3 separate regions of the Homo sapiens genome follow, and regions 1 and 3 are each linked to region 2. Evidence: promoter capture Hi-C in human tissues and cell types (Jung and others, 2019). All regions are on one chromosome and are shown on one strand. Each heading gives the region's core, a stretch centred on a gene start or on the middle of the fragment in contact. The rest is flanking DNA. Distances are from core to core; before and after follow the strand shown.

Region 1 (3,497 bases), core at 611-3,110, 780 kb after region 2:
TGTGTGTGTTCTAGGGAGAAATACTGATATAGAGATCCAGGAATGCTGCAGACAGCCATAGGTGGCCTTTCTGGTATCTCGGCAGGAGTTTGCCTATTTTTCCCTCTCTGCCTCCATTGATTTTCACTTGCTAATAGATAACTTGGGCTTACCCAAGACCAGGTCATGTGGGACACAGAATCTAGGCATTGCTGCTGAAGGGATGATTTAGTAAAGATATAAACTCTTCTTTGGGCAGAGAGGTCAGTAGATCTGGGTCAATCCAAAGCTAGCATTGGTTCTGAGTACAGGAGAATAGGATTGGCCCTACAGGTACCTAAGGTGCAGGCTTCCTTTTGCACTTGGAGACTGCGAAGAGATTTACTAGAAGGGAGAAACGGGAGCTGAGTTGTGGAGAGTCATTTTCTGACATGGAGAAATAGCTTTCTCACTCTTCTTAGATGGGAGCCTTTCACTGGGTTTATATTTATTATGCAGTAGAGAATCAAATCCCAGGCACCAGGAGTGGGAAACAAGGGCAGTAAAACAGGGAAAGAAGGAGAGTCAGCGTATGATGCCTGATTGTACTGGTCTCCACAGAGGGTGGGCATTACCACATCTGTGTGACAGTGTCCTTAGACGCTGAAGAAACTAAGTCTTTGTTGGACAGCCCTTCAGAGGAAAGAAAGGAGGAAGGATTTCTCTACCAGCTCCTGTCCCCACAGGATTTTAACTCCCCTGCACTTCCAGATGGCATGTGCTGGGGTGTGGGTGCTGCAGCAGGGAAGTCCCAGAATAGGAGGCAAGACCTGGTCATGTTGTCAAAACCCATCCAGGGATGGGACAAGGAGCAGGGGAAGCTGAGAGAGGCTGAGGAGTTCTTAAGAGGTGTCTGCTTCAATGGGAAAGCTTGAGCTGGGGCTGTGGAATATCCCTTTTTGGTGACATGAGGACAACTTTCTCTGGGAATAATTATATGATAGCTTCTGTCTGCAGGAATTTTGTTTGTTTGTTTTTGTTTTTGTTTTTGAGATGGAGTCTCACTCTGTCACCCAGGCTGGAGTGCAGTGGCAGGATCTTGGCTCACTGCCACCTCTGCCTCCCAGGTTCAAGTGATTCTCCTGCCTCAGCCTCCCAAGTAGCTGGGACTACAGGCATGCACCACCATGCCCAGCTAATTTTTGTATTTTTAGTAGAGACGGGGTTTTGCCATGTTAGCCAGGCTGGTCTTGAACTCCTGACTTCAGGTGACCAACCTGCCTTGGCCTCCCAAAGTGCTGTGATTACAGGCGTGAGCTATTGCACCAGGCCTGTTTGTTTTTGATAGTATTGTAAATGAAATTGTTTTCTTAATTTCATCTTTGGACTGCTCATTGCTAGTATATAGAAATACAATAGATTTTTGTACATTGACCTTGTATCCCGCAACCTCACTGACCTCCTTTCTCAGCTGTAATACTTGTTTTGGTGTGGATTCCTTAGAGTTTTATATATAGAAGTATATAAGATTGTATCATTTGCAAGTAGAGATAGTTTTACTTGTCTGTAGGAAGTTTATTTTATTTTATTTTATTACTTTTGAGATGGAGTTTTGCTCCGTCACCCAGGCTGGAGTGCAGTGGTGCAATCTCAGCTCACTGCAACCTCTGCCTCCCAGGTTCAAGTGATTCTCCTGCCTCAGCCTCCCAGGTAGTTGAGATTACAGGCATGTGCCACCGTGCACCGCTAAGTTTTGTATTTTTAGTAGAGATGGGGTTTCACTATGTTGGCCAGGCTGGTCTCAAACTTCTGAGCTCAGGTAATCCGCCAACCTTGGCCTCCCAAAGTGCTGAGATTACAGGTGTGAGCCACTGCACTCGGCTGGGAATTTGATTTCAAAGAAATAAAAAGCTAGATCCCCTTTCGTTCTTCCTGTCTGCACAACCACTTGCGGGTTGACTGGGAATGCTGAAAACTATGTTACCTCAGGGAACCAAGGCCTTCATATGGTTTCCCACATTGCTGAATTCATTAGCTGGAATATATGCAGAATATTTAAAAGAAGCAGAACAACCCAGAGGAATCAGTGGCATCCTGATAGACCAGGATTAAATAGCTTCAGTTACAGGAGTCCCAGAAGTACCTAGGAACCTTGTGGAGAATTTCTTTAGTTTGCCCCAACCTGTTTCTGAGGCATGGTCCTGTGTGGTGAGACATGTCATTTTCCCCCTGGGGATAGCAGTGACTTGAAGGAGTTTCCCATCATTCTGCTGGGAAGAGAAAGGTGGAAGTAGGTCTTACCTGTGCAGTTGCAGGGAAGGTCTCACTGAGGACCCAGCTCTGGGCCTCATTCCATTCTACCAGAGTGGAATGCCAGTGGCATCCAGTGGCCTGTCAGGTGAATCACAGGTTAGAATTCTGACCTATATCCAAGCTGGAATCTTTCCTTTCCCTCTAAGTCAGGTAATGGGCCACGCTCATTCATGATGAAGAGAAGTTGGGTGATTGGCTTGGGAGAGCTTGCATTGCCTGACTCAGTGTCTGCCTCTGAGGATGAATGGTGACCAGCAGAGATACCAGCTATGCAGAGAGACTGATCTCCTTTAGAATTTTGCTAAAGCCCATTGATGCATTTTGTGAGTTGACTGCCTTTTTCTCTTTTAGAAATTCTGACAAAGATTAATGATGTATCACTGTTTAATGATACCTGTGTGAGATGGCAAATAAACTCAAGAAGAATAAACCCCAAGATCTCATATGTGGTAAGTAAAGTGATCTACTTTTTCCTGCTAGGACAGACACGTCACCCATGGGAATATGAGTCAGAGGGACTTGCTTCCGTGAGAGCTTCTCAATCTAATTGCTGTTTTTTTTTCTTTTTTTCTTTTATTTTTTTTGTGAGACAGTCTCACTCTGTTGCCCAGGCTGGAGTGCAGTGGTGGGATCTTGGCTCACTGCAACCTCAGCCTCCCGGGTTCAAGCGATTCTCCTGCCTCAGCCTCCTGAGTAGCTGGGATTAGAGGTGTGCACTACCATGCTTGGCTAATTTTTTGTATTTTCAGTAGAGATGGGGTTTCACCACGTTGGCCAGGCTGGTCTTGAACTTCTGACCTCAGATAATCCACCTACCTCGGCCTCCCAGAGTGCTGGGATTATAGGCATGAGCCACCGCGCCTGGCCTCAATCTAATTGCTTTCTGATCCCATTGTCATTTAAAAAGAGTGGATGGAATTTTTGAAGATATCTGGATGATTTCGTTATTTTGCATTTTGTGTTTAACATATTTGTCATTCAGCAGGGTGCATGTGTGGGGGATGCATTTATATTTGGCATCCTCACGATTGCTTGTTTCCAAGCACTTGTATTTCACTCCCCCAGAGCAAGCCCGGGAGCGTCTGCTGACTTGGTGACAGAGTGCAGCCAATGGTCCTCAGGTTGCAATTGTCTCCATTTGATCATTTGTGTGCAGGAGAGCACTTCCTAGGGAGATTTCTCATTTATGTCTCCTCTAGGGGTTTAATATTCACTGGGCTGATCAG
Region 2 (3,403 bases), core at 559-3,058:
GTTCATTTCCAGGCCAGAGAACTCAGAAGCCTGGGGGTTCCTAGGGCTGACTAGCATCCTAATAACCCAGCTCCTACTAGATCTGTTCTAGATCTGATGTGACTCTCTCAGAGACCCTTCAAATGTCCCTGGTTTCCCAAGACAATGGGAAGAACTGAAATACCACAGACCCTCCCAGAGATGACAAGGGCTGCCCCCTACAGTCTAGAGCCCTAGAATGCACAGACTCCTTGATCAAGTGGCCAGAGTGGTCCATCTGGGTCAGGTTGTTCTCATGGCCATATTTGATTGTGGAATACCACCTGGCCCCATAACCTACTCATTCACTGGAGTCTCCACCCCTCATAGGATCAAGGTGTTTGGACTGTTTGCTGTAGCCTCTGGAAAAATTAAGAATGGAGTGGGAGAGCCAGGCTTGGGTTGGGTGAAACATGTATCTCCCAAGGTGACCCTAGGTGAGGGGGAGGAAGAAGGAAATGGGCTGCTGGGCCAGATCCATGGGGCACATCTTGAAGGGCAAGACTAGGTGTGTCTTTCTCTTTGCAGAAGGCAGAGTCGTCTGGGCCTAGACACGAGGAGGCTGGGCCATGCTGGAGGTTGAGGGTGGCAGGGGAGGAGATTATAGCCCACCTAAACACTACCAAAAGAGCACATAGATACACTAAATCATTTGGAATCCAGTCCCTACTCCCTACATGAGTATATTATCCATGTGGCATTTTAAGCTCTCCCTGCATACCTGCGTCTCCCTTTCATGTCTTTGGGTTCCTGATCATCCACGCTGCCAGAGCTATAGTGGATTGTGGGTAGAGGGACAGGAAGGCTGTGTGCTTTGAGTCTCCATCCCTGGGGCTGACCATGGAACAGGTCATGCTCTGTGGTACATTTTGGCCCCTGCACCATCCATCACCCTGGTTTTCTTTGCAGAAGTATGTACCTAAACAAGAAGCGAGGCCACCTGGGAAGTGGAGGTCTCAGCCCAGCCCAGGGGAGTGAGCCCACAGACAGAAGAAGAGTGACTACTAACAAGCAGAAAGGGACCTGGGCACTTGATTCAGATGAGGACCCTGGTGACTCTGCCCCTTCCAGTGGGCTCAAGCCCCTGCCCAAGAGTCCAGTTTTATCATCTAGGGGGACATCTAGGGCTGGCAGGATCTTGCCGTCTCTCCCTTGGCCCTGGGGTTTGGGGCAGGAGCCTTCTAGACAAGGCCCAGGCACTAGGCCCACCAATGCAGGTGTACCAAACAGGACTCTTCTCTAAGAGGCCTTTGGCTTGGAGAAGAGCCTGGACCTGGCGGCTCCCAAGTTTTTACTTCTCTCAAAGTGCTACCCAGCTGCCTATAGCACATGGGCCCCTGTTGCATTAAATCTATAAATAAAACTTCACACCCCAATACTTATCCTAGGCAGAATCCTAGGCGTCCCACCCCTCGCGCAAACCTGCCTTCCTGGGATGGGAGAATTTGGAAACGCTCCCTGAGCCAGTCCTGGGGAGCTTCCTTCCAGCCCCTGCCCCGGTGGTGGGGGGTCCGCAGAGATCCGCGGGAGGTCCGGGCACGCACGCCTGGCTGTGGGGAAATTCGGCCCCGTCAGGCGGCCGCGCTCACAGGAGCAGCGTGACCCGTCGGCCCCGGGGGTGCTGGCGCCAGGAGCCAGCACTCGCGGTGCGCTCCCCCGCGCCTGGCTTCCCTGGACTGTCGCCAGTCCTACTCTGCCTGAGGTGGCGAGGGCAGGGTGGAGCGCGGCCTTTTCTGGCCTGAGGAGGAGTCACTCGGGAGGTCACTCGGCTGCTGGGCGGGCTGCTGTCACAGGCGCTGCGTGCCCTGGCTCTGCTCGCCACTGGCCGGCGCGCTCCCGGCGCACGGAGCACACTCGCGCTCCCGGCGCACGGAGCACACTCGCGCTCCGGGACTGAAACCTGAGCAGCCGTAGCAGCCGAATTTGGGAGCATATCCTTGTCACTGCAGCCAGAAAGCCCTTCGATCCCCATCAGAGAGGTCACATGAGCCCCGAGGTCACCTGCCCGCGGAGGGGCCACCTGCCTCGCTTCCACCCGAGGACCTGGGTTGAGCCCGTGGTGGCCTCGTCCCAGGTGGCTGCCTCCCTCTACGATGCGGGGCTACTCCTCGTGGTGAAGGCGTCCTACGGAACCGGAGGCTCCTCCAACCACAGTGCCAGCCCATCGCCCCGGGGGGCTCTAGAGGACCAACAGCAGAGAGCCATCTCCAATTTCTACATTATCTACAACCTTGTGGTGGGCCTGTCCCCCCTGCTGTCCGCCTACGGGCTGGGATGGCTCAGCGACCGCTACCACCGAAAGATCTCCATCTGCATGTCGCTGCTGGGCTTCCTGCTCTCCCGCCTCGGGCTGCTGCTCAAGGTGCTGCTGGACTGGCCAGTGGAGGTGCTGTACGGGGCGGCGGCGCTGAACGGGCTATTCGGCGGCTTCTCCGCCTTCTGGTCCGGGGTCATGGCGCTGGGATCGCTGGGCTCCTCCGAGGGCCGCCGCTCTGTGCGCCTCATCCTCATTGACCTGATGCTGGGCTTGGCGGGGTTCTGCGGGAGCATGGCTTCCGGGCATCTCTTCAAGCAGATGGCTGGGCACTCTGGGCAGGGCCTGATACTGACGGCCTGCAGCGTGAGCTGTGCCTCGTTTGCCCTGCTCTACAGCCTTTTGGTGCTAAAGGTCCCTGAGTCGGTGGCCAAACCCAGCCAGGAGCTCCCCGCCGTGGATACCGTGTCTGGCACGGTTGGCACATACCGCACTCTGGATCCTGATCAGTTGGACCAACAGTATGCAGTGGGGCACCCTCCATCTCCTGGAAAAGCAAAACCCCATAAAACCACCATTGCCTTGCTCTTTGTGGGTGCTATCATATATGACCTGGCGGTGGTGGGCACAGTGGACGTGATCCCTCTTTTTGTGCTGAGGGAGCCTCTCGGTTGGAACCAAGTGCAGGTGGGCTATGGTATGGCTGCAGGGTACACCATCTTCATCACCAGCTTCCTGGGTGTCCTGGTCTTCTCCCGCTGCTTTCGGGACACCACCATGATCATGATTGGGATGGTCTCCTTTGGGTCAGGAGCCCTCCTCTTGGCTTTTGTGAAAGAGACATACATGTTCTATATTGGTGAGTCTGTCATTCTTGAGGAGGCAGGACATTGCTAGCCCTCTGCATCATGGGGCTGACACCAGGGATGCCATGGTCTGGGTGTCCTAGCTCAGCACCAGGGATTGAACCTGCTACCTAGGAGGCACAAGGGACACAAGATTATATGCCCCTGAGTTTATCTGTAATGTATTGTTAATTAATTATCTATATTGAGAATGAAATGTTACCAGAGTGGTGTTCATGGTTCTGGGCAGTCAAGGAGGTGTGGTCAGTGGTACCTGGAGTCAGTA
Region 3 (3,328 bases), core at 1-2,500, 740 kb after region 2:
TAGCTGGGATTACAGGCGTGCACCACCACAACTGGCTAATTTTTGTATTTTTTTTTTTGAGATGGAGTTTTGCTCTTGTTGCCCAGGCTGGAGTGCAATGGCGCGATCTTGGCTCACTGCAACCTCTGCCTCCCAGGTTCAAGCAATTCTCCTGCCTCAGCCTCCTGAGTAACTGAGATTACAGGCATGTACCACTGTGCCCGGCTAATTTTGTATTTTTAGTAGAGACGGGGTTTCTCCATGTTGAGGCTGGTCTTGAACTCCTGACCTCAGGTGATCCGCCCACCTCAGCCTCCCAAAGTGCTGGGATTACAGGCATGAGCCACCGCACCCGGCCTAATTTTTGTATTTTTAGTAGAGACGGGGTTTCACCTTGTTGGCCAGGATGGTCTTGAACTCCTGACCTCAGGTGATCTGCCTGCCTTGGCCTCCCAAAGTGCTGGGATTACAGACGTGAGCCACTGTGCCCGGCCAAGAAAGATACTTTTTTTTTTTTGAGATGGAATTTCACTCTTGTTGCCCAGCTGGAGTGCAATGGCATGATCTCTGCTTGCTACAACCTCCACTTCCCGGGTTCAAGCAATTCTCCTGCCTCAGCCTCCTGAGTAGTTGGAATTACAGGTGCCCGCCATTATGCCCAGCTAATTTTTGTATTTTTAGTAGAGATGGGGTTTCACCATGTTGGCCAGGCTGGTCTCGAACTCCTGACCTCAGGCGATCCTCCTGCCTCAGCCTCCCAAAGTTCTGGGATTACAGGTGTGAACCAACGTGCCTGGCCAAGAAAGATACTTTTATAAATTTAGTGTAGCCTATGTGTACAGTGTTTAGAAAGTTTACAGTAAGGCTGGATGTGGTGGCTCACACCTGTAATCCCTTTGGGAGCTCTTTGGGAGGCTAAGGTGGGAGGATCCCTTAAGGCCAGGAGTTTGAGACCAGCCTGGGCAACATAGTGAGAGCTGATCTCTACAATTAGAAACTAGAAATTAACTGGGCACGATGGCTTGTGCCTGTAGTGCTAGCTGCTCCTAGCCCCAGGAGGCTGAGGCAAGAGGATTGCTTGAGCCCAGGAGTTCAAGGCTGCAGTGAGCTATGATCGTGCCAGTGCAATTTAGCCTGGGTGACAGAGGGAGACCCTGTCTCTATATAAAAATAAAAGTCTACAGTCATGTATCATAACGTTCTAGGCCTTCCTATTCACTCACTCACTGACTTACCTAGAGCAGCTTCCAGTCCTGCAAGTTCCATTTCATGGTAAGTGCTCTCTAGAGATGTATCAGTTTTTTACATTTTATACTGTATTTTTACTGTACCACTTCTATGTTTAGATATATTTAGATACACTAATACTTCCCACTGTGTTACAGTTGCCTACGGTATTCAGTACAGTAACATGCTATACAGGTTTCTAGCCTAGGAGCACTACACTCTACCATATAACCTAAGTGTGTAGTTGGCTATGCCATTTAGGTTTGTGTAAATACACCCTATGATGTTCCCACAATCATGAACTTGCCTAATGACACAATCCTCAGTATGTGTCCCCATCATTAAGTGACATATGACTGTAAAATAAAAATAATAATAAAAAACCCACCCAGATCTTCTGGAGGGTACTTTTGGTTGAATAAGAATTGAGTGCAATTGTGAGAGGCCATTAAACGGATATGAGGGGCCCACTGGTGAAATAAAACACGAAGTAACAAACAAGCTACAAATTCATAAGTTGATGATTTTTCTCCCAAAAAAAGCTAACTGTGTAGATCAGCTCTAAAAGGATGCATAAACAATTTGGTCACAGGAGTTTCCTCTTAAATTAGAGGGTTAGGCAGAGTCAGCAAACTATGGCCCATGGGCCAAGTTCGACCTGCTGCCTGTTTCTGTAGGTGGAGTTTTACTGGTACGTAGCATTGCTTGGTAGTTTACCTGTTGTCTACAGCTGCTTTCGTGCCCATGAGCACAGGTGAGTTGTTGCAACAGATACTGTGAGAAAAAGTTTGCTGACCCCTGAGCTAGAGGGCAGAGATGAGAGGGAGATTTACGTTCATTTTGCATCTTTCACTTTCATATTATTCAATGAAAAACACTCTGGGCAAGCTTCTGGGGACTCATCGAGCATCCATGTTCCAGGCCTCTGCACTGAGGGACTAACATTATTCACCACAGGTCATTGACCATTAGCATGAGCTATTCCTGCTTCTGCATTAGCCCTGCTCCGGATGAGGCTGCAGCACTAATTCCATTGTGTTTCTTGGTAGTTCAGAAGGAAGAAATTTTCCAGTTAATCACTGGCTGTAAAGTCACCCTACCCTGGCTTTCATGGAAAACCATGAGAATGGCTGAACTGGAAAAGGGGAATTCTGCTGGTTTGTTTCCGTGGGCCTCTGAAAAGATCTTTTTAAGCTTGGAAAAGTTCAAAGAGAACCCTCTTCTCCCAATCTTCAAATCAGACGGATTGCCAGATTGAGGTGTTGTGTTTCTCTTGGGGTTTCATACACTCCTGGCACATAACTACGAGGGGCCCAGGTCCTGTAGTCTGGGGAGCATCGTGAAAGGAGAAGAGGCTGGAGAAATAGATCACTAAGGTGTGGTCACAGAACGTTGGTTCCCGAGTCCATAGCATGGGAGGACAGTCTGGGCTGTTGAAGTCGGTGTGGATTGATAGCTCTTCCGGTGCCTTGTCTGTGTGTCAACAGATAAAAATGAGTGCCAGTTTGGAGCCACTCTTGTCTGTGGGAACCACACATCTTGCCACAACACCCCCGGGGGCTTCTATTGCATTTGCCTGGAAGGATATCGAGCCACAAACAACAACAAGACATTCATTCCCAACGATGGCACCTTTTGTACAGGTACTCAAGAAGGGGGCTGCGGTGTTGACAATTGGCGATGGCAGGATAGTATCTGGGCTGTGTATTTGTTAATATTAGGGAATTAATGTTAGTTTTGTTAGATGGCATAATGGTATTGTGGTATATAGGATAATATTCTTATTTTGGGAGATGCATGCTGAGGTATCTAGGGGTGTTATGATGATGTATCTATAATAGTGTTCCTTTAGTCTGTAAGCTACTTTAAATGGCAAAATGTAAACAACGATTGAATCTTGGGGGGATGTGGGTCTATGGGAGTTCATTGTAATATTCTTTTTCTTTCATTGTAATGTTTTGTTTGAACTTTTTTTTTTTTAAGGGGGGGGTCTCACTCTGTTGCCCAGGCTGGAGTGCAGTGGCACAATCTCGACTCTCTGTAACCTCCGCCTCCTGGGTTCAAGCGATTCTCCTGCCTCAGCTTCCTAAGTAGCTGGGATTACAGGCACGCACCACCATGC

What was found. Contacts are between HindIII fragments. The study calls those that stand out against the background at their distance.
Region 1: a fragment that was not itself captured here is called in contact with the fragment with the promoter of SLC46A2 in region 2 in 1 of the 25 tissues and cell types used here (heart left ventricle).
Region 3: a contact is called between a fragment that was not itself captured here and the fragment with the promoter of SLC46A2 in region 2, in 1 of the 25 tissues and cell types used here (H1 embryonic stem cells).

Annotation. Positions count from the first base shown.
Region 1 is chr9:112,111,994-112,115,490 of GRCh38, reverse strand. It overlaps SUSD1 (sushi domain containing 1), which reads left to right. Exons shown (of 17, transcript NM_022486.5): 7 at 2,623-2,720. Among named protein-coding and RNA genes, the nearest start is that of SUSD1, 62 kb to the left of the region's middle. The HindIII fragment of the contact is 6,336 bases long and covers 1-3,497 here.
Region 2 is chr9:112,889,281-112,892,683 of GRCh38, reverse strand. SLC46A2 (solute carrier family 46 member 2) reads left to right here and starts at 1,808. Exons shown (of 4, transcript NM_033051.4): 1 at 1,808-3,131. The coding sequence starts at 2,003. The HindIII fragment of the contact is 12,966 bases long and covers 1-3,403 here.
Region 3 is chr9:112,148,765-112,152,092 of GRCh38, reverse strand. SUSD1 (sushi domain containing 1) reads left to right here. Exons shown (of 17, transcript NM_022486.5): 3 at 2,694-2,849. Among named protein-coding and RNA genes, the nearest start is that of SUSD1, 25 kb to the left of the region's middle. The HindIII fragment of the contact is 3,844 bases long and covers 1-3,172 here.